Regions from separate parts of the Homo sapiens genome. Here regions 1, 3, 4 and 5 are each linked to region 2. The links are contacts of gene promoters, found by promoter capture Hi-C in blood cells and fetal thymus (Javierre and others, 2016). All regions are on one chromosome and are shown on one strand. Each heading gives the region's core, a stretch centred on a gene start or on the middle of the fragment in contact. The rest is flanking DNA. Distances are from core to core; before and after follow the strand shown.

Evidence for each region. Contacts are between HindIII fragments. The CHiCAGO score rates a contact against its expected background, and 5 or more counts as called.
Region 1: a fragment that was not itself captured here is called in contact with the fragment with the promoter of RIPK4 in region 2 in 1 of 17 cell types (endothelial precursors); the score reaches 5.0 in endothelial precursors.
Region 3: a contact is called between a fragment that was not itself captured here and the fragment with the promoter of RIPK4 in region 2, in 1 of 17 cell types (fetal thymus). The highest score is 5.8, in fetal thymus.
Region 4: a fragment that was not itself captured here is called in contact with the fragment with the promoter of RIPK4 in region 2 in 1 of 17 cell types (fetal thymus); the score reaches 5.5 in fetal thymus.
Region 5: a fragment that was not itself captured here is called in contact with the fragment with the promoter of RIPK4 in region 2 in 1 of 17 cell types (fetal thymus); the score reaches 5.5 in fetal thymus.

The regions. Positions count from the first base shown.
Region 1 is chr21:41,307,047-41,311,256 of GRCh38, reverse strand. It overlaps a transcript of FAM3B not described here. Among named protein-coding and RNA genes, the nearest start is that of FAM3B, 7.6 kb to the left of the region's middle. The HindIII fragment of the contact is 247 bases long and covers 1,272-1,518 here.
Region 2 is chr21:41,765,478-41,769,972 of GRCh38, reverse strand. RIPK4 (receptor interacting serine/threonine kinase 4) reads left to right here and starts at 2,921. Exons shown (of 8, transcript NM_020639.3): 1 at 2,921-3,113. The coding sequence starts at 2,932. It overlaps LOC102724800 (a long non-coding RNA gene), which reads right to left and starts at 2,806. Exons shown (of 5, transcript XR_937745.3): 1 at 2,739-2,806; 2 at 1,956-2,114; 3 at 590-1,359. RefSeq lists an enhancer at 1,010-1,304. The HindIII fragment of the contact is 2,131 bases long and covers 1,551-3,681 here.
Region 3 is chr21:41,368,069-41,372,585 of GRCh38, reverse strand. All of the region lies in intron 1 of MX2 (MX dynamin like GTPase 2), which reads right to left. Among named protein-coding and RNA genes, the nearest start is that of MX2, 8.3 kb to the right of the region's middle. RefSeq lists enhancers at 2,262-2,471, 2,405-2,549, 2,424-3,110, 3,342-3,401, 3,111-3,799 and 2 more, a cis regulatory region at 2,477 and a silencer at 3,662-3,711. The HindIII fragment of the contact is 5,010 bases long and covers 1-4,517 here.
Region 4 is chr21:42,138,343-42,142,875 of GRCh38, reverse strand. UMODL1 (uromodulin like 1) reads right to left here. Exons shown (of 23, transcript NM_001004416.3): 23 at 1-780. Among named protein-coding and RNA genes, the nearest start is that of UMODL1-AS1, 32 kb to the right of the region's middle. The HindIII fragment of the contact is 352 bases long and covers 2,002-2,353 here.
Region 5 is chr21:42,064,253-42,068,371 of GRCh38, reverse strand. It overlaps a transcript of UMODL1 not described here. Among named protein-coding and RNA genes, the nearest start is that of UMODL1, 5.0 kb to the left of the region's middle. RefSeq lists an enhancer at 467-1,021. The HindIII fragment of the contact is 824 bases long and covers 2,295-3,118 here.

The sequences.
Region 1 (4,210 bases), core at 146-2,645, 460 kb after region 2:
TATATTTTTTTTTTTTTTTTGTAGAGACAGGGTTTTGTCATGTTGCTCCTCACTTTCAACTTCGAATGCAGTAAATATCAATAGCCAGAACCTTCAGAAACAAAAGCTCCTGGGGCTCCTCCGTCACTTTTAAGTGTATAAAGGGGTCCTGAGAGCAAAATGTTTGAGAACCACTGCTTTAGACTGCCTGGCTGAAACACTGAGAAGATCCATTGGAAACGAAAGGGACAGATAACCTAGGTTTAGAGTCAGACTTGGTGTCAATCAAGGTTCCTCACCAAACTAACAGATTTGGAACAACTTATTTAATACTTTTTAAACTCAGATTTTTAAAAAAATACGTGAAATGGGGAAAAAATATCCTTTTAGGAACTGTTAAGATTAAATGGGATAACACATGAAACATGCCAGCAGACACTTACACTTGTCATTACTTATGCAGCTGCCCTTCACCCTACAGGGCTGGGAGCAGCCAGGCTTGCTGAGCCAGGGGTGATGTTATCCAGAATCAGGGCCAGCTGACCAACTACGTGGAAAGCAAGAGGCTCTCTGTGTCCCAGCATGCACCCTGGGAGTACCAGAGGATGGTGCAGGGCTGACTCTTCAGAGCTCTTCCAACCTGGGAGAAGGGTGTGCTCATTTTGGAAGGGCCAGAAACCCAGACAGAGCACCTTAGTGGAAGTACAGGTCCTAGTTCAATTCAGTTCAATCAGCCAGATGTGGATGAAGCACCTACTAGATCTCAGGCAATGTGTAAACTTCAGAGATGCATCAGTGCACAAAAGTGACACAGATATGGAACTTGTGCCACTCACATTCTAGTGCAAAGATCCAGAAAATGAGGCAGTAGCTCACGGGGTTCCTAGGGAGGACTGAGCTGCAGATGGGAGCACCAAGAGTGGAAAACCCACAAATGAGCAGAGGACAGACAGTGACCCCACAGGCTCCTGTGTGGCCAAAAGAGTGTGTATGGTCACGTGGTGCCACCAAGAGGAACTGGTGATGCGGGGCCGGGGTGGGGTGAGGCTCATTGTGAACATAGCCATGGAGAGCCAGGGTGATGACTGGCAGGACAGTGGAGAGACCGCAGGCTTCTCCTGGAGCAAGAGAACCAAGAGACAAGGAAGATGTTGAGGCTGAGCAAGGCTGCCTTTGGGTAGAAACTCCCACCCTCCTTCCTGAATCATAGCTCTGTCAGTCACTTCCCTGCAGCACCAGGCTGGGAGGATGAGAAACCCAGAGACCTGTGAACTCTGGCTTGGCAGAAAGCTTAGCCTACATAAAAATTTCTGAGTCTGAATGGGACCAGAAGAGGCAGGCAAAGGTAAACTGAGCTCTCCTGAAAGAGGGAAAGTCACCATTTTGGGTTGCTCCCCTTTTGTTCTGGGAAACAACCTGGGTGGACCAGGTGGTAATGCAAATGTCCAGTTCCCAAGCGTGATGGTATCTGGCACTGGGGCATGACTATTGCCCTCAGGAAGGACAGCCATCAAATATTCAGATCAATGCGTCTAAGCTTTTAAACTGGTCTTGTTGGTTCTGCCGGTAAAGCTGCTGCAAACTGTTTCCCCTGTGAGTCTCCTGAATGTGCCAAATGTGTCTGTACAGAAAATCCATGGCTCTCATTTGGAAAGGTGTGGGTTCACACTCTTAGCTGCAGCAATGCACCCTGAAACATACACTGCAGGTTTTGGGAAGAATCCAAAGTTTTAGATGGTTTGATCTGCAACTGTGACTGGGGATGTGTATATCCTACAGTTCCACGTGTCCCTTATGGGTTTTCTGCATCATCATGATGCTCGTGGCCAGCATGGGAGGACAGGAAGAAGCGGAAGCAGAACTCAAGCCTAGCAAGGAAGAGACCCTGGCACATGGGTGACCCACTGTGGGAAGGAAAGGCACCCAACTCTCATGAACTTGAGTGACACAGAAGTAAGAAAACAGCTCCAAGGGGAGGCTGAAGCTATTATGGTCCATTTGTCAGAAAAGGAGACTCCAGTTGGAAAAGAGATTTTGACCAAAAGTAGAATATAAATCAGTACTACAGTTTACAGGATCATCTAACTAGCTAGTCCTGAAGGCGGATGATGCTGTGTGCTCACTTGAGCAGTGTGGAAATCCCTGGCCACCCTGTCTTTTACCCATTAGGCAACTGAAGTGCACAAAGTCTGTGTGTAGCCCAAGGCCACTCAGCTAGAGCCTCGGTCTCTTAAGTTGAGACCCTGCATCAGAGTCTTCTTGGTCCCAGTAACACATCCCATACCTCCTTTTGTGAAGATGAATCTAAAGTGGGAGGTCACCAGGTCAAGGGCAAGGGAAGATCCACATGCTTCTGCTGACCTCCCAGAGTCTGTGTGACCCTGCCACCACTTCTCTTCCTACTTGTCCCAACCCTACTCCTGGGACCTGATGACCATTTCACTGTTTATTTGCACCTCGCCTGGACTGCAAAATGTGTGAAAAACCGAGGCAGGCGGATCACCTAAGGTCAGGAGTTCGAGACTAGCCTGACCAGCATGGCGAAACCCTGTCTCTACTAAAAATACAAAATTAGTCGGGTGTAGGGGTGCATGCCTGTAATCCCAGCTACTCTGGAGGCTGGGGCAGGAGGATCGCTTGAACCCAGGAGGCACAGGTTGTGGTGAGCCAAGATCACACCACTGCACTCCAGCCTGGGCAACAAGAGTGAAACTCTGTCTCAAAAAAAAAAAAAAAAAAAAAGAAAAGAAAAACAAAAACCAACAATCAAAAGACTGGCACCCAAACTCGTTGCCTTTGCTACTGCTTTTCACTCTTGTTAAAGCCATTTCTGCTGACGGCAGCTGCACAGATTGTTTGGAGGAAGAGCATGGAAGTTGGGTGAGCACTACCCAGAACCTCTACTTCTGCCCTCATGGCTGGGTGGTTTGGGGCATGCCATTTAACCTCTCTGAGCCTGGCTTCTTCATCTACACAACAGGGGCAGTGACACTCATCTCATAGGGTGGTTGTGGGGATTAAGTGAGAAAATGGAGAGAAGGTACCTTGAATAATCCTGGATGCAAATGAGGCATCCCATAAGTGGTCACTACGGTTGTTATGTTAATGGGTTATTTTATCTCTCACTGTCATAAGACATCAAGAGAAAAACTGGCTGAATTTCAGTGTTGATTTAGAAACAAGTTATGTAAGGGATTATGTATAAAAAAGAACTATATGACACACATCTTGAAATACAGGCACACCTCACTTTATTGTGCTTCACTTCATATGCAGATACTGCATCTTTTACAAATTGAGGGTTCCTAGCAACCCTGCCTCCAGTAAGTCTACTGCTGCCATTTGTTTCCAACAGCATGTGCTTACTTCCTGTCTCTGTGGCGCATTTTGGTAATTCTGGCAATACTTCAAACTTTTTCAGCATTATCATATATGGTATGGGGATCTGTGATCAGACATCTTTGATGTTACTATTGTGACTATTTTGGGGGTGCCATGAACAGTGTCCACAGAAGACAGTGAACTTCATCCATATATGTGTGTGTGCTTTGGCTGCTCCATTAACCAGCTATTCCCCATCTCTCTCCCTCTCCTTGAGCCTGTTCCCTGAGATACAACAATATTGAATTAGACCAATTAATAACATTACAATGGCCTCTAATCATTCAAGTGAAACAGTCACACATATTTCTCTTTAAATCAAAAGCTAGAAATGATTAAGCTTAGTGAGGAAGGCATATTAAAAGCCAATAGAGGCCATAAGCCAGGCCTCTTGTGCCAAACAGTTAGCTAAGTTATAAATGCAAAGGAAAGTTTTTAAAGGATATGATAAGTGCCACCCCAGTGAAAACAGAAATGATAAGAAAGTGAAATAGCCCTGTTACTGATATGGAGAAAGTTTTATTGCTCTGGGTAAACCATGATATTTCCTCAAGCCAAAGCCTAATCCAGAGCAGGGTCCTAACTTTCTTCAATTCTGTGAAGGCTGAGAGGTGTGGAAGCTGCAGAAGAAAAGTTGGGAGCTGGGAGAGGTTGGTTCATGAGGTTGAAGAAAAGAAGCCATCTCCGTAACACAAAAGTGAAAGGTAAGGCAGCAAGTGCTGATGCAGAAGCTACAGAATGTCTTCCAGAAGATCTAGCTAAGATCATTGATAAAGGCGGCTACACTAACAAATTTTCAATGTAGACAAACAGCCTTATATTGGAAGGTGCCATCTGGGACTTTCAGAGT
Region 2 (4,495 bases), core at 1,672-4,171:
CCCTGAGAAGGACAAAGACGAAAATGACTCAATTGAAAATCTCACTATTCACCCATGGCCTGGCATGTGCCACACACATATAATTATCATCTGCGTGGATCCCCACCGACATCTCGAAGCAGGTCCCTCTATCCCACATGTCAGGGACAGGCAAATGCACCATGGTCACAGCCTGGGACCCCATCTGAGGCAGGCTGGCTGCAAACCCAGAGACGTCTCTATCCTGTCTTCTCCCTGGCCGGCAACCTTCATTGTTCCCTGCGGTAGGATGTTAAAGGCAGCTTCCTGGCACTTCCAGACCAGGGACCTTGGGCTGCCTGCTGGGTGGGTCAGTGCTAAATGGCCCCCTATGAAGAAGGGCACAGCTTGGGGACCTGGAGCTCAAGGGATCACCTATTTAGATTCGCTGTCAGGACATCCAGTATAGGAGGAAACTGGCTTGGAATTCTTCTGGGGAAGGGGCCAGGAGGAACACAGGGTAGTGGGGGAGTGGGGGCTTGCAAATGTCAGCAGACAGCCCCCTTCCCCAACTCCTCCTTCCCACCTCCCACCCCCCATTGTCTCCCCTCGTCGTCCCTCCCCTCCTCACCTGCACTGCACTCCCAGGCGGGTCAACAGTCTCTCCGTGGAGCTTCGTGCCCTCGGGGCTTACCTCCTAAAAACCTTCAAGTCTGCACCCCTACTGTGCCTCCGTGGCTGCGCCCTGCTTTCCACCCAGGATCTGTGCTGATTGGTTTGTTTGTAACCACACCGGGCACGTTGTCCATGCAGGCACTTCATGAGGTTAATTAATGTTGTCCCATGAAACCTCAGGACAGCCACCTCCCAACTTGCCCTATTATTCATTTCATCTTTTTCTTTAAATCGTTCCACTTTTCTTTGGCCCTAAAATGTATTTAAAACGAAACTAAATTACTTTTATACTTGGAAATTCTAACCTCACCAGCCTGGGACCAATGACTGTTAACATAAATAGCAGCTGCGCTCCCGGAATCCCAGAGGGTCTGGAACTCGAATTCACAATTCCTGGAAAGGTGTTTGTTTTCGTTTTACCAGTTGTCATGTGAATCGGTAAAGCACTTCAAAGTCCGCAGAGGAGCCGGATACCAAACCAGGTTCCTGCCGCCGAGCCCGTGATCTTTGGACCCGATCTGCTCACAGCTGGGAGCTGGCTCTTTTGGTCTCCAGGGGGCTCTGGTCTTCAGTCCCAGGCACCAGGCACTGAGCTAGCAGCAGACACTCCATAAATATTTGTCAAATGAAGCACACAGATGATTAAATAAATGAAATTGGAGCGTTTTATTACTTGCGTGGTGTGGGCTCTTAGTCACCCCCAGCTGCGGAGCTGTGTGCCGGAGACTGTAGATGGAGAAAGGTACTTTGCTAGAGCTGAGCCCCGGGAACAGGACAGGTGACTCACTTTCAAGTCCATTCATTTTTTTCCCACCAAAATAATAACTATGTTTACTTCCAAGGTATCTTCGTAGATTCAAAACTCCAATTATTTTTTAAAACATTAGTCCAAATGTAAGTTACATTTGTGACAAGCTTAAAACAACTATTTGCCACTCCAGCCTTAAGGAGACCAACTTTAATTTCCGGAGTATGTGGGAAAGGAAGTGGCTCCCTGGTCCCCCCAGGAGGCCCCCCGAGCAAGCATCGTCATGTTGGGATGTGTGAGTTCCCTCCAAAGAGCGGCCGGATGGGAGTGGGGAGGCAGTGGGGAGACGCGGCTCCCCGCTACAGGCTATGAAAGAAGGTCCGCGCCCGTTTGGAAGGGGGAGCCTGGAGACACTAGGTCTGCGGCTTTCAATGCGCTGACTTGGGGCAGCCTCTCTCTTTCCGAGTTACTAACACAAAAACACAGTTAATGTCGTTAAAATACCCTCTCCTTTAGCTCCGCCCTCCTGTCTTCATTATTAATCTCCTGTGGCCAAAAATAAGCCTTCACTCACCGTTGCGTCTCAGGAATGAGTGAGTGTTTTCTGAGGTGTGGACGCGTGCGTGATCTGTGATGCACTTCGGCCTCTAACCCAAATATCCTTCCAAGGCTGGGAATTTTTTTTCCCCATATGTGAAAAAAAAATCTTTCCTTTTCAAACCATCTGTTCTACCTGTAAAAAGAGGCTGTTATTTAGGAAAGGATGAGGGAACTCTTGCATTTGAAATGGACTTTAGATTTGCTGTTGGGTAATTTTTTAAAAAAAGTTACTTTCTGAGAGGAAACTCGTGTAAAAAAGCAAGACGTGAACCTGCAGGGAATTAGACTAACGAGTGAAGAAAGCCAATTTCAAAAAATTAGGCGCTGTATGATTCCTGTATCTAAACATAACATTTCTGAAATAAAACAATTTTAGAAATAGAGGAAAGATTAGTGATGCCAGGGCTCCGGGGTGCGGCTGTAAAATCGCCACAGGAGTGGCCAGGTGGGGGTGGATACGGGAAGGTACACAGATGATTACATTGTGTAAAACTAATACATGCAAAGGAAGACGAGTAAAACGGCAAAACTGAATAAGATCGGTGACTGTATCAAAGTCAATATCCTGGTTGTGAGATTGGACTTTTTTTTTTGGCAAAGTTTTGCAAAGTGGTAACACTGGGGGAAACTAGGCAAAGTGAATGATTTCTTACAACTGCATGTGACTCCGCAATTAAGGAAAAAAAAAAAGCAAAGAAAAGCAGGGCAGCTGATGCGCACGTCGAGACCCGTGAGAAGCGTGAGAAGCTCTGCTCACCCAGGGGAGAGCGCAGTGACCCGCAGCGTCTATTCATCCGTCCGCAGTCACCGGGCGCTGGCAGAGAGGGCGCCCGGGGGGCGGGTAAGTGGGCGGGGCCTGGGGGCGGGACGACCTACGGAAGTGACGTAACAGGGCGGAGCGCGCACCTGGGCACCTGGGCAGCCGCCGCGGCGCTGGCTAGACGTGCGCGATGGAGGGCGACGGCGGGACCCCATGGGCCCTGGCGCTGCTGCGCACCTTCGACGCGGGCGAGTTCACGGGCTGGGAGAAGGTGGGCTCGGGCGGCTTCGGGCAGGTGTACAAGGTGCGCCATGTCCACTGGAAGACCTGGCTGGCCATCAAGTGCTCGCCCAGCCTGCACGTCGACGACAGGTGAGCGGCCCGGGCGGGGCGCTGGGGCGGCTGGGGCCCGGGCTGGGGTCGGGGTCGGGGTGCTCTGGTCCCGGGGTCCTGCCTCTCTCTCCCGAACTCACCCCCGGAGCAGCTTCGGGGGGGAAACCAATTGCCGGCGAGGCCGCGGGGCTCCGACAATGTCCACTCGGCCTGTCCGGGCCGGAGGGGCGCGGGGGCTTTGGCGAGCCCGGGCTCGATCGCGCACGTCGGGGCCGGGTCAGGCGGCTCCTCTGGGGCTCCTCTGGGGCTCCTCGGGGGCCGCGTCTGCCCGGACGTCCTAAGGCGCCCAGTCGTGCTTCCTGACACTCCCCGAGTGGCCCTGGTTTTCGGGGTCTCCAGCTCGCCTTGCGCCTCGGACCCGCGCCCTTGGGAGGCGCGTCCGGCCCGCCCGGGACCCACCGGGGCGCTGCGGTCTGCGCAGGGCTTAGAAAAATTGCCATGTGGGCCTCTGGGCTTTGTGAGTGGAGTTAGCCTCCGTTCGACTTACTTAGTAATTTACGTTGGAACACAAATTGGTGTAAGACTGTAATTATTTCGGTCGGAAGCTTCGGCTTGGCTCGGGCGAGGCTTCCCGGGCGCCCGGCGCTTGCGCGGTGGAGCTCCGGGGCTCGGGCCTGGCAGTGGGGTCCGGCACGGGGCCCGGGGTGTTGATCCGTCCGCCCAGCGCTTCCTCGCCGCACACTCTCGTTTTAGCTGACTTAATTTCGAGACCGACCCGCTAGGGAAGGGCCTTGCATTCAAGTTCTGTGGCCGTGCCATGGGGCCCTCCTGCACCCCAGTTTCCCAGTCCAAAAGTCAGAATGGAACCTGCCTGTACCTACCTAGCAGGAGTGTTCAAGGTAACAAAGACGAATGGGAAGGACGCAGAGCCGCCCGTGTTAAATTCGGTGGGTCGGTTGTCGTCTGTGCATAATTTGAGAGGTAGGGAGAATGTTCTTGAACAGTACCTCTTTGTTGTTGTAGATTTCACTGTTTACAGTTGATTTTGATGGTTCATATGTAAGGCTCAATTTAGCACGTTTTAATTATTTATCCTTTAATGAAGCTTACCTTCTACATGGAAGCTATGCTTGTATTTTACCTAGAGATTCCTTGAACACATACACTCAGAAGCGACACCTTTTTAAAATACCATTTAGCCTTTGCTGCCTGGCAGACCTGGTTTCGAATGCTCGGCTGATTGAGTGATGGGGCCGCTAAGCCCCAGCTTTTCTGCAGAATCGTTGTGATGCCTGTGTCTGGGGTGGCAGTGCGTGCTGCAGCCCCATACCGTGACTGTGACGCCTCTGTGGATGAGAGGCCTGTCCTCTCCCTTTGCATTTTCGTCCTTGGCTAGGAGACTACACAGCAGAGATAGTGGT
Region 3 (4,517 bases), core at 1,248-3,747, 400 kb after region 2:
AGAAGCCATGCCAGAAGTCAAGGGCGATGTCCTTACTGACTTCATGTTAAAAAAAAATAGCTTTAAATACTATATTAAGAGTTCTAAAATAGTAACTGACATCTATCCACCAAACTTTCAGAAAGAAAATTGGATCCATTTATAATTGACTCATAATAATCGATGCAAACTTCTGACAAGTAATATTGGCAATCTCAAAAATAGTTTCTTAATAAAGATGGAATCTGGTCATCTCAGAACACCTGTCCTTGAGTGCCATGAGCCTTCCTAGCTAAATTACTCCATAATTGTTTGCATCATGGAAAAGGTAAATTAAGTTTTACATGCAATGCATATTGGTCAGGAAATTTTCTGGAATTGGCCCAGGAAGTGGTAGAGTCCTATCTCATCTGCAACCAATATAACCCAGGCAAGACTGTAAAGGTGAGACAGGATTCAGAGCCATGGGTTCATGATAGCAAGTCTACCTCTTGCTAGACTTTCTATTCTCAGCATGGACAATACCTATCTTCCTATCAAAAGATTATAGACTTACTGTCCTGGAGGGTCCTTCTTCTAACACAGACACTTCACTGTCTGAATCACCCTCGGTGTTCGCAAAATACAAAATCAATCACACACTGAAGCTGAAATTCCCTAACTATAAAAAACCCTCCATCTCTCTGGGCTTTGAGTTTTGCCACCAGCTTTATTGGCCGTGCGGTCTTGGCCTCTATCTGTAAGCAGAAGATGTGGCTCACCCAAAGTCACATCATGCACTGGTGACAGCCGGGGCTCCTGGGCCTGGCAGACACCCCGCTTGCCACACCCAATTTATCTGCCTCAGCTCCTTAAGGAGCTGCTTAAGGAGTAAGCAGAAGATTACTCCTTAACTCCTAGGTCGAGGATATAATAGGCTATTGGCGTGACCGTCTCTGAGTGCTCACTTAGTCCAGCACCCCATGAGATCATAACCAGATGCTGTACATGACCAGGAGTAACTCCAGCAAGGCCTGGCTCTGCTCCATTTCATGTACGCAGTTAAGCATTGTCAAGGATTAGCCTCACACACCAAGTCTCGTGCCCAAAGGAAATGCCAGCCAGAGGAAATGCCGGCCAGACTTTTCTGACCTCCAGCCTGGTGTGGGTCCGCTGGAAGAGACCTCAAGGCAAAAACTTTTCAGACCTCTTTGGAAGGAGCCATTTCAGGTCCTCCTAGCAAATGCCAGGGCAGTCAAGATCCAAGGTGTTGACCCAAGTACTCAAGAGTCAGTAGAAACAGGCAACAAACCCAGACCAATGGATCAGCTCAAATGACCTCAAACCAACACTAACCACAAAAGCCTCCAGATGCAAAAACTAAGAGCTATGGACCAAGCAGTCGGCTTTGGGAGTGGACAGCTTCACTCGAGATGACGAGACCAGATAATGATTGAACTTCTTGTGACTCCCACCACAGTGGATTTCTTTGTGTGTATTTTTAAACATTATACTCATGGCTATTCTCTCTTTTTCAGGATCAGATTTCAATCCTGCAACCACGTTTTCTAATTTACTTGTTTTTGTCTTCTTCCTCCCTCCTTCAGACCAAAACACATTTTCTCCTAGCCCACCCTAAGAATGACTCAGCAGTCCATTTGGAAATCTTGCCTCTTGCTGGATCTGCCACCCATTTCCAACTCCAGGAACCACACAAATCGTGAGCATTCCCCTACTGAATTCCACGCCATACATTTTCCAACACATAATTCCAACACATAATTACCTTAAGATCCATAGAATAAGTATTCTTATGCCCAGACACACATAGGCTGCCATAATCACTCCTACCATAAAACACAACCCGCATGGCCGCGGTCTGGGGGAAATGATCCTGCCTCCTATATGAGCACCCTGATGCTTTTCACATCCCTTTAGATCTGCTCTCAATTTCACTGAAGGCAATGTTACCACATACTTACATTTCTCATGAACAGATTTTTGCTTCCAACTCTTCTCCGCTCATGAAATACTGTTATACAAACAATAGAACCATTTGCAAGAGAAATATGCATGAAGAAAAATGTCCACGTGCAGGAAGGCAAGACTGTTTAGTTGCCACGGAAGTGGTCATCGCCGTTTGCTGAAACAGAGCTCATGGGAAACTTTTCTCTCCGAACAACCCCACACCGCCCCACTCCAACGGTGCCACGGGAGGGCCCCTTTCCTTACATGGTGCCAATGCACCCCCATGCTGGCCCGAGGACCGTCATCGTACTTTGGGGGCTCCTAGCGATACAATCTCAGGATTCAGCTCCTCTCCTGTCCCATTTCCTCTGCTCGTCACAGCTTTCACAGAAGTAGCTTTGCTGGAAGTGTTAGAGCCGCAGGTTCCAACAATTAACTTGAAGGTCTTTCACCTTGGTAGTGGTTCCGGATTTACGGCTATCACAGGCTTATCCCTTGCTCTGGGTGGAATGACACAGCCCAGGAAAAGAACCTTTACCCACCCGCCATGGTGGGACGGACGACCATCCAGCTTTGGGCCACGCAAGTCGTGGGCGGAGCTCTGGGGAACACTTCCTGTTGCTTTGCTACCCTCGTCGAGTCTAGCAAAACAATCTCCACATGCAAACACTGGCTTTCCAAAGTAGAGAGCAGAGCTTGGAATCTTTTCTGGCTAAAGGCAGGCTGAGGGGGACGCGGGCTTCCTGGAAGTTCCCCGACTTTGCTGATGGGACTGTCCCCTGCTTGCTGCACAGCCACGGCGGGGCGGGAGCGGGGGCGGGGGCGGGGGGCAGGGGTGCGGCGGGCAGGGAGGTCCCCGCTATTGTGGAGGGAGGAGAGTGACTGATCGCAAGGCTCTGTGCTGGATGCGGCATCATCCCCCATGCAGGGTGGCCCTGGCTTCTACCGAAGGTGGCTGCTGAGAGCGCCCTGCAGGAAGGCCCCAGGGGCACCAGAGTCCCAGAGCAGCACCTCACTTCTCGGGAATACCCCTTCCAGAAACCCTGAGGCCAGCCCAGCACTCCCACCTGCTGGCCCAGCAGCTCTCAGCGGCTTTCCTCCCTTGGGACAGAGACTGCTTACACTGCCGGGCTCAAAAACCTGCCCCGTGCCCCGGCCAGCCTCATCCCCAGATGTCACCCTGTGATGACCTGGACTGCCCTCTCTGCAGTGGAATCTTCACTAGGACCCTCTGTCTCAGCGTTTCCTAATGAGCTCTTGCCCAGTCTTGCATCCTCCCCGCGCAGCCTCAGAGGGGCGGATCTTCCAGCAGAGCCAGCGGCTCCTGAGCTCAGCAGCCCCACCTGGGGTCCCTCCTCACTGGGAGGAAAGACCATGGTTGTGTGAATGGCCCCGCCGCCGCTCAGCCTTCAGCTCCTGTTCTCCAGCCTGGCTCCCAGAGGTCCAGGTCCACAGGCCTCCTGCACCCCCCTCCTCCCATGGGGGCTGAAAGCACTTCCTGTTTTCAGAACTAGCCCTGGGTTCGTAAAACGTTTTCTGATGTGAAATCCTTGAAACCAGAAGGGCTAGGCAGCAATTTTATGGGATCACTGAGAGATGAGTCCATCTAAAGTTGGCACAAACAGCTCCTAGCCCTACGGAGACTTTCTCAGGGGGTACAGGAGGGCTTGGCCAGGACCCAGCAGCTCGGTGGGCCTGGTGGCACCCACCCTAGCAAGTGAGATCTCAGGTGGCCTCACTCCACCCATCTGTCTGGGAGGGAGCCTGGGACTCTGAACCCCTAGCCACAATATCCTTCAAAGGCTGAGAGCTGGAGCCAGCTGCCCTTGGTGACGAAGTCAGGGGTCCAGGAACAAAACCGAGTGCTGATGGGAGGTGATAACTCAGCCTCAACTTCTTCCTCTCCATGGGAAGAAAGAACAAGGGAAAGGAGGGTTCCTTTTGTGAAGCCCAATATTCTTCATTTCATGTTCCTTTTAAAACATATTTAAAACTGTCGCCACCCTCACCCTCACCCTCATTTTCATGAAGGGCAGGTCTTGCTAAGCGTATCATGAGCTGATTAAGTTTGAGAGGACAGGAGCTGGGCACAGATTGCTCTGCAAAATAAAGGGGTGAAAAGTTGCAGGGGTGAACATGTGTGAAGGTCGGAGGCAGGAGTGAGCCGTGGGGTGACATGTAGGGGATGAGAATTCCCTCAGTCCCCCTCCCCATTGCAGTTTAGGGAGGATTTTCTGACACGGGCCTGTTGAGTAAGGAATGTAGGTTTCGGGTTGTCTGGTGTGTGCCTGGTGAACCATCTGTCTCCCCTGCACAATCTTCAGAAATGGCTACAGTGTGTCTGTGTGAGTGGACTGTCTCGGGAGCCTGTCGGCTGGCTGGGTGCCCCTGCAGGCTCACGGAGACGACACGGAAGAGCCGGGTGACACATGGACAGGTGGGACTTGGGCTATGCACAGAGGCAGGAGGGAATGAAAGTGGGGGGCTTAAGAGGCTTAGGGGTGCAGGCCTCTGCTTTCAGGAGCCGCTGCACTGTGGGTTCCTCTCCAGGGCTTGGTCCCCACGTGGGAGCTTCCGCAGCCCAGTATAAA
Region 4 (4,533 bases), core at 928-3,427, 370 kb before region 2:
ATTCATTCTGTGACCTCAATTAAGTAACTCATCGGCTCCTCTGGTTTCTCATTGTGTAATGGGTAAATCACACCTCCCACTGTGGTCGGATTATATGAAGAAACGGCTGTGAAAATGCTTAGAAAAATGTAAAGAGTGATGTGTACCTACGTTATTTCTGCTTATTGAAAAGGTTGTCACATTAATCGAGTGCCTTTTGAGTCGCTGTCGTGTAAATAAAAGCAATACCTTGGTACACAGGAGAAAAGTCAAACAGCATAAACATCCACTAAAAATAACATTAGCAGTGTATTTCTAAGACTGACCTATTTTCGAAAGAGCATCAAGAGCGCGGTCGGGTCTCTCTGAGAATGTGAAATATTCTATATTTGCCAAAGGGTGACGGACGCCAAGGGAGGGCAAGCCCAGGAGGGTTCTGAGGGCTGGTGTGGAGGGTCACAGGCCTGGGAGGTCTAGGCTGCGGGGGCCGCGCGGGTGGTGGTGTAGCCGCAGCACCCCCAGGACTGCCCCCGTCTTCCGCAGCCCCTTCATCTGCCCCTGGGCTGTGGCTCCTCTAGGACCTACAGGACGGCCTGCCTCTTCGGGACAGACGGTGGCTGCTGTCTTCCTTTCTGGGCTCACCCGGGCTCTGGCAGAGCCCACCCGTCAGAGCAGACCTCCGTTAAGGCTTGAAGAGTTAAGAACCGAGGGATGGGTGGAGGTGCAGAGAGACACTGGGGATCCCGGGGGAGCCCACCAGGGAAGCTCTGAGGTTCTGGAGGCAGCTTGACTCACGGCGACCTGTGTGGAGGAAGAGGTCACCTGGGTCAGCTTGCACGCAGGAAAGGTAAAGTTAATACAGAAAACCCCAGGAGGAGGGGTAGTGGAGGAAACACCAACCCGAGGACATGGCGTCTATGTTTACTGGAGAGGGACAGATCAAGCCCCTAATGAAAAGGCAGCCACTCCCAGAGTGCCCAGTGGAACGGGGACCATGGGGCTGTGCCTGCCCTCAGGTGAGCGATGCTCCTGACACGCCAACTGGTGGGGGTGGCTGGTGAAGATACCTGAGCCAGACGAGCACAGCTGGGGCCCCTGCACCTTTGCACCATCCGTGGAGAACCCACCAGGACTCTGGGAACATCTCTGAGTGGGGCTGCCCAAGGGTCGACCTGGTGGGGGTGGGTGGGTTGGCTGATGGTTTTCAAAGAGCAGATGTCTGCAGGAACTTTAGAACTGGTGAGACAGTTCTCACTTCGAAAGACAGGAGCCCCGGGAGAACAAAGAAAGACAAGAGGCCAGTTTTCCCTCGGATGTTTTAATTTCGAGGAAGGGGACATCCAGCATGACCCAGCACCAATACACCAGATTTCCTTAGAAAGCTAGCGGGATAGTGTTGGCCTCATCGCTGGGATTCGCATCTTAAATATTAAGTAAAAGGCACTGACATTTCCTCGTAACTCTATCTAGGGAGGTGACTGGCCTCTAGCACTGGCCCTGTCTATGCTGTAAGGGTCCTGAGACCCCAGAATACTGCGTATGTTAGTTACCAGGAGTCCTGGCAGGAGAGACGGGAAAGACAAAGCTAACACAAGCATCCCCCTCACATGGGCAGAATCACATCCACAGGCGGGTGGTGTTTTCTCTGAAGTTGCCCAGCAAGGGCAGCATGGAGGTTGCCTTTTGGAAACGTGTGCTGTAGTCTGGGCTTTGCTGGTGACCTGGGAGGATTGGCTTGAGTTCTCTGGGCCCCATTTCCTCATTTTAAGATTGGAGCCAGTGTCTACTATACTTTGCTGAGTTGTTTCAAAAATCTGTTATCTCAAGAAAATAAGGACCTGAGCACAGGGAAGACGGGCTTGGCTGGGGAAGCTGCCTGCCTGACGAAGAGGGGGCGGGCTGGTATTGACAATGTCTCCTGCCCAGGATGGGAGGCAATGGGGTTGGTGAGGAGGGGGTCTTCATGGCCCAAACCCCATGGGCCCCAAACCAGAGGCCAAAAGCTACCAAACTGAGGAAGCTTCCTTATTTTTCACTATTAGAGTGTAAAGTTGAACTGAAACTTCGCTGTTGTTCCCTGCCCCTTTGGGATCCCCGGAGGTGGCTGAGGACCCAGACCACAATTGAGCAGCAGCACCTGCCTCCCGGGGAGGCTCAGGGGTCCTGGGAAGGCTCCTTCCCTGTAACCACAACAGTTGCTGCCTCTCAACTGGGACACCTGGTGTCCCCACTGCAAGAATTAAGAATTGTGGATCCCCTTGCACAGCTGCTAAAATACAAATTCTCCGGGTCTCTGATGAAGGGGAAAGGCAAGGGGCATTGTTCTAAGGGTCCATCAGTCATGTGAACACTAGTGTAAGAAAGGCTCTAAGCTTGGTAGCTAAGAGAGCTGACCCCAGAGCCAAACGGAAATCCCATGCAGCCCCAGCTCGGCCACCTCCCAGCCATGTGACCTGGGAGGCCTATCCCTTCCTGCCCTGGACCTCCCAACCACGTGACCTGGGACACATCCCTTCCTGCCCTGGACCTCCTAGCCACGTGACCTGGGACACCTATCCCTTCTTGCCCTGGACCTCCTAGCCACGTGACCTGGGACGTCTATCCCTTTCTGCCCTGGATTCCCATCTATAACACAGGATGCTAATAACAGCACAACCTCACGGGGATGTTGGGAAACAACAGACATTGTCAACATCAGCCCACCCCCTCTTCGTCGGGCAGGCAGCTTCTCCAGCCCAGCCCATCTTTCCTGTGCTCAGGTCCTTATTTTCTTGAGATAACAGATTTTTGAAACAACTCAGCAAAGTGTAGTAGACACTGGCTCCAATCTTAAAATGAGGAAATGGGGCCCAGAGAACTCAAGCCAATCCTCCCAGGTCACCAGCAAAGCCCAGACTACAGCACACGTTTCCAAAAGGCAACCTCCATGCTGCCCTTGCTGGGCAACTTCAAAGAAAACGCCACCCGCTTGTGGAAGTGATTCTGCCCATGTGAGGGGGACGCTTGTGTTAGCTTTGTCTTTCCCGTCTCTCCTGCCAGGACTCCTGGTAACTAACATGCGCAGTATTCTGGGGTCTCAGGACCCTTACAGCATAGACGGGACCAGTGCTAGAGACCAGTCACCTCCCTAGATAGAGTTACGAGGAAATGTCAGTGCCTTTTACTTAATATTTAAGATGCGAATCCCAGCGATGAGGCCAACACTATCCCACTAGCTTTCTAAGGACATCTGGTGGGTCGGTGCTGGGTCATGCTGGATGTCCCCCTCCTTGAAATTAAAACATCGAGGGAAAATTGGCCTCTCGTCTTTCCTTGTTCTCCTGTTGGCTGAGAGGGTGGGCAGTTGATATGGTGTGGGTCTGTGTCCCCACCCAAATTTCATGTTCAATGTGATCCCCATATTAAAGGTGGGGCCTGGTGGGAGGTGGTTGGATCATGGGGCGGATCCTTCATAAATGATTTAGCACCATCCTCTTGGTGCTGTCTCACGATAGAGCTCTCATAAGATCTGGTTGATTAAACATCTGTAGCACCTGCCCCAACCCCTTCCTCCTGCTCCAGCCATGGAAGACGTGCCTGCTTCCCCTTGGTCTTCTGCCATGATTGTAAGTTTCCTGAGGCCTCCCCAGAAGCCGAAGCCGCATGCTTCCCTTACAGCATTTGGAGTCAGCAGTCTCACACGCTGCCAGATAAGCCTCATGATTGCTTCTCTTCTTCTTTTATTAGTATTTATTTATTTTTGAGGCAGGGTTCCCCTCTGGAGTGTAGTGGGGCAGTCTCGGCTCACTGCAACCTCCACCTCTCGAGCTCAAGGGATCCTTCCACCTCAGCCTCCCAAGTAGCTGGGACCACAGGTGTGTGCCACCACACCCGGCTTATTTTTGTATTTTTTGTAGAGATGGAGTCTTTCTATCTTGCCCAGGCTGGTCTGGAACTCCTAAGCTTAAGCGATCCTCCTGCCTTGGCCTCCAAAAGTGCTAGGATTACAGGCATGTTCTTTTTTTAGAAAAATCTCAAAATTTGGCCGGGCACGGTGGCTCACGCCTGTAATCCCAGCACTTTGAGAGGCCGAGACGGGTGGATCACCTGAGGTCAGGAGTTGGAGACCAGCCTGACCAACATGGAGAAACCCTGTATCTACTAAAAATACAAAACTAGCTGGGTGTGGTGGCGCATGCCTGTAATCCCAGCTACTCAGGAGGCTGAGACAGGAGAATCGCTTTAACCTGGGAGGTGGAGGTTGTGGTGAGCCAAGATCGCACCACTGCACTCCAACCTGGGCAACAAGAGCAAAACTCCATCTCAAAAAAAAAAAAAATCTGAAAATCTTTACAAAAGTCCCAGTCTTGGTGTTTCCCACTGAAGGTTTATACTAACCATACTGCCCTCCATAATGCTTGTCATTCATTTGTGGTGAACTATGTGCAGGCCCAGGAAAAACAAAAGTCCACAGGGCAGATCAGAGAAGCATCTTCAGCCTCAAAAGGTCATACATAAGTCGGGGCTGCGGGCATGAGCAGCAAGGTGTGGGGGGTCCACTGTGGCATCCACACC
Region 5 (4,119 bases), core at 1,457-3,956, 300 kb before region 2:
GACCACCTGCATGGGGAGGGAACATATAGAAAATGCAGGCTCCCAGCCTCACCCCTCTCTCACTCAGGCACTGGAGGATAGGCCCCCCGGCATCCGGGTGACTCAGGTGCTCACACGACCTTGAGGACGGGACCGTGTCCTCCTGAACACCAGGACACGAATCCAGTGGGATGGCCCCTTTTGTGGACAGATGGCTCTGCCTGAAAATTCCTCACGATATGGAATCACGGTTGGCCTTCCTGCTGGAACGACCACATCCGAGAAGCCTGGTCCACCCTCACACTGGACAGTGAGTGCCACTCCTCCATGTGGCAGCCTTCGGACCCTTCTGGAGAGTTCTCCGGGCCGCCTCTGTTTTGCTCCCCTCCCCCATCTCTCTCTCCCTCACTCACACAGACACGTGCCCTCGTCTTTGTCTCTGTTTCTGTTTACCTTTGAAGAAGCTCGGCTTTCTTATCACAGCCCGAATGACTTTTCCTTTTCCACATTCCACTTCGGAGACTGTGGCCCTCCACGGGCAGCAGTTGCCGGGTTGGATGGAAAGCGAGGGTGCGGCCTGGGGTTGGGACATTGTCTCCAGGCCCCAAGGAGCAGCATGGGCCTGTCGCTTTCTCGTGGCAAGGCCAGAGCAGATCGGAAGGCGAAGAGACACGAGAAACTCCCAGAAGAGGCGCCCAGGCCTTCAGAGGTGCTTCCGTAACACAGCAAAGGCATAGCTAAGGCCAGGGGGGCAGTGGACACGCACGTGCCGGTGTGTTTTCAGACCCTGCATGCCTCACAGTGGAACCTGGGGAAAGCCCTGGATTAGGAGCCAAATACCCTCAGTCCAGTCCTCGTTCTGCCAACGGCTGGACAGGGTCCCCTGGGTGGCATTTATCCATTCAGTGCCTCGGTTTCCTAAATGAGAAATTACCAAAAGGGAATAGTGATGCCTTCTAATTTAATGGTGTTTTAATGCCTCCTGATTTTATGAAAACCAAATTAATTAATGTATGGGAATGCCTTCTAGAACTAGAGTGTATTTTAAGTATCCATCACTTATTGTCATTAAATGTAGGTAAGGCCATTACTGGGGAAATATAATTAAAAATAAAATGTGCTGGCCAGGCACAATGGCTCATGCCTGTAATCCCAGCACTTTGGGAGGGGTGGGGGGTGGATCACGAAGTCAGGAGTTCAAGACCAGCCTGGCCAAGATGGTGAAACTCCATCTCTACTAAAAATACAAAAATTAGCCAGGTGTGGTGGCACATGCCTATAATCTCAGCTACTTGGGAGGCTGAGGCAGAGAATTGCTTGAACCCAGGAGGCGGAGGTTGCAGTGAGCCAAGATCGCGCCACTGCACTCCAGCCTGGAGGACAGAGCGAGACTCCATCTCAAAAAAAAAAAAAAAGAAAGAAAAAAGACGTGTGCTCTAAACCCAGGAAACCTCTCCACAAAGGTGGAAAAGAAAGAAAAGTTTCATTATTGAATAACCGTTAAGCCAGAAGATGATATGCATCACAAGCAATGGCTAAGAGACTGCAAAGAAAGGATCTTATCCTTTTAAAGACTCAAACAGGTACAACTAACTGCATGCGTGTTTTCAACATAAACAATAACTAGTCCTTAAGGAAGAGGCCCTGACAGTGCCATTTGTCACACACCGTTGACCCCAGAACCACCTGGTCACTGGGGTTACCATCTGTGTTTGTTAATTGTCTGTATCTAGAAGAAGAATGAACTCCTATCTTCATGACAGGAGGTGGTTTTGCAGCTTGGAGCAAGATCAACTAAGTTAGGCTTTTGGCCTCCCTAGGAAACCAGAGAGGCCAGGAGACAGTTTGGGAGGCTGAGCTGGGCAGATCGCCTGAGGTCAGGAGTTCAAGACCAGCCTGGTCAACATGGTGAAACCCTGCCTCTACTAAAAATACAAAAAAGATTAGCCAAGCATAGTGACACACACCTGTAATCCTAGCTACTCGGAAGGCTGAGGCAGGAGAATTGCTTGAACCCAGGAGGTGGAGGTTGCAGTGAGCCGAGATTGCGCCACCGCACTCCAGCCTGGGCGACAGAGCGAGACTCCGTCTCAAAAAATAAATAAATAAATAAAGAGTAATGCTCAGAGAAAAAGGAGAGAAAAATCTCTTCCCTTCTTTTCAATCAGGAGAATTAAGCCTCTATTTTTAATTTGTCTCTGTCCTTGAAATCCTGAGGTGGTTTTAAGGGCATAGGGCACTTACCAGAGAAGACTGGCCTGGGTGCTTGCCAGGGCCTCTTCCAACTCTGAGATCGTGAGCATCAAGGATAAGCTTTGGAGCCTATTGATAACCGCATTAGCACCACGATCAGGAATGCTGTCGCCCTAACAATAACGTTAGGACAAAGAATTCACGGTTCATGTAAAAGAGCGAATGCAAGTCAGAAACAAAAATCCACCTATGTCTGGGTCCTGGGACCTGGCTGCGGAGGGCAGCGTGGTCTGGAGAATAGGGTGCCAGCCAGGCCTGGTGTCCTGACTTCTAGACAGGACTCCAGCCTGTCTGTAAAAGTTGGTGCAGGCTGAGTGCAGTGGCTCACTCCTGAAATCCCAACACTTTGGGAGGCTGAGGCGGCCAGATCACAAGGTCAGCAGATCGAGGCCCTCCTGGCCAACATGGTGAAACCCCCTCTCCACTAAAAATACAAAATCTGGGCATGGGGGTGCATGCCTGTAATCCCAGCTACTCGGGAGGCTGAGGCAGGAGAATCGCTTGAACCAGGGAGTCGGAGGTTGCAGTGAGCCAAGATCATGCCACTGTACTCCAGTCAGGGTGACAGAGCGAGACTCCGCCTCAAAAAAAAAAAAAGAAAAAAAAAGAAAGAGATCTGGTGCAGTCCTTGGCCACCTGGACTTCAGGGTCTTGTTTCCAGATAGTGAAGATAACTGGCTCGATCCACACCTGCACCAGCATTTCGTGACTGGATCATCTCTTAGGACGGGTCAGACCACGGTGCTTCTAGACCCATCAGGGCCATTCTGCACCCAGTAATGGATATCATCATGTGGCTTTGAAATAATGAAGCAAGAGCAATAGAATCTGAACTGAAACGCAATAACTGCATGAATGAGTTTATAGTGTGGCATCTTAGAAAGCTTTCTGCTGGAGGGTTCCAAATAAGTGACGCCAAACTCAGAGGGGATCGTTCCCCGCCAGCCCTCATCGCAACAGGCAGCTGCCCCAGCACAGTCACTCCTGGAAAACACCAATGTCCCAAGGCGCGGAGTCTTTCTGCCGGGGCTGAGGTTGGGATAAAAGGACATCACAACAGTGAGTTGCCTCTACCTCGAATCAGGCTTTAATGTTTAAGAGGAAAAGAGAGAAGGTGTACATTCCCCCAGCCGCAAGGATTTTCAAAAGTAAAAACAGAATACAACAGATTCAATAGTTCCAATAAATGATTTTAAAATTCTCAGATATGCGCTCTTTGTCAGGATTCTCCAGAGAAACAGAAAACTGATTTTAAAAAAAGAAAAGAAAAGAAAGAAATTTGTGGGCCGGGCATGTTGGTGCACGCCTGTAATCCCAGCACTTTGGGAGGCTGAGGCGGGCAGATCACCTGAGGTCAGGAGTTAGAGACCAGTCTGGCCAACATGGCAAAAACCCATCTCTACTAAAAATACAAAAATTAGCCAGGTGTGGTGTTGGGCGCCTGCAGTCCCAGCTACTCAGGAGGCTTAGGCAGGGGAATCGCTTGAACCTGGAGGCAGAGGTTGCAGTGCGCCGAGATCACACCTTTGCACTCCAGCCTGGGCAACTAAAGCGAAACTCTGTCTCAAAAGAAAAAAAGAAAAGAAAGAAAGAAATTTGTGATTCTAAGAAATTGAAATTGGCTCACACAGTTACGGAGCTGACAAGTCCACCACCACCTGCAAGGTGAGTCAGCAAGCTGGGGCCCAAGAGAGCCAACGTGTAGTTCCCGTGCCAACGTAGGCAGACTCAAGACCCAGGGAGAGGTAATGTTTCAGTTCAAGTCCAAAGGCAGCAAAAAGCTGATGTTCCAGTTCGGAGGCCGTCCGGCAGGAGGGGTTCTCTCCTCCTCGGGGGAAGGGGCAGCCCTTTTGCTCTTTTCAGGGCTTCAGCTGATTGCATGAGGCC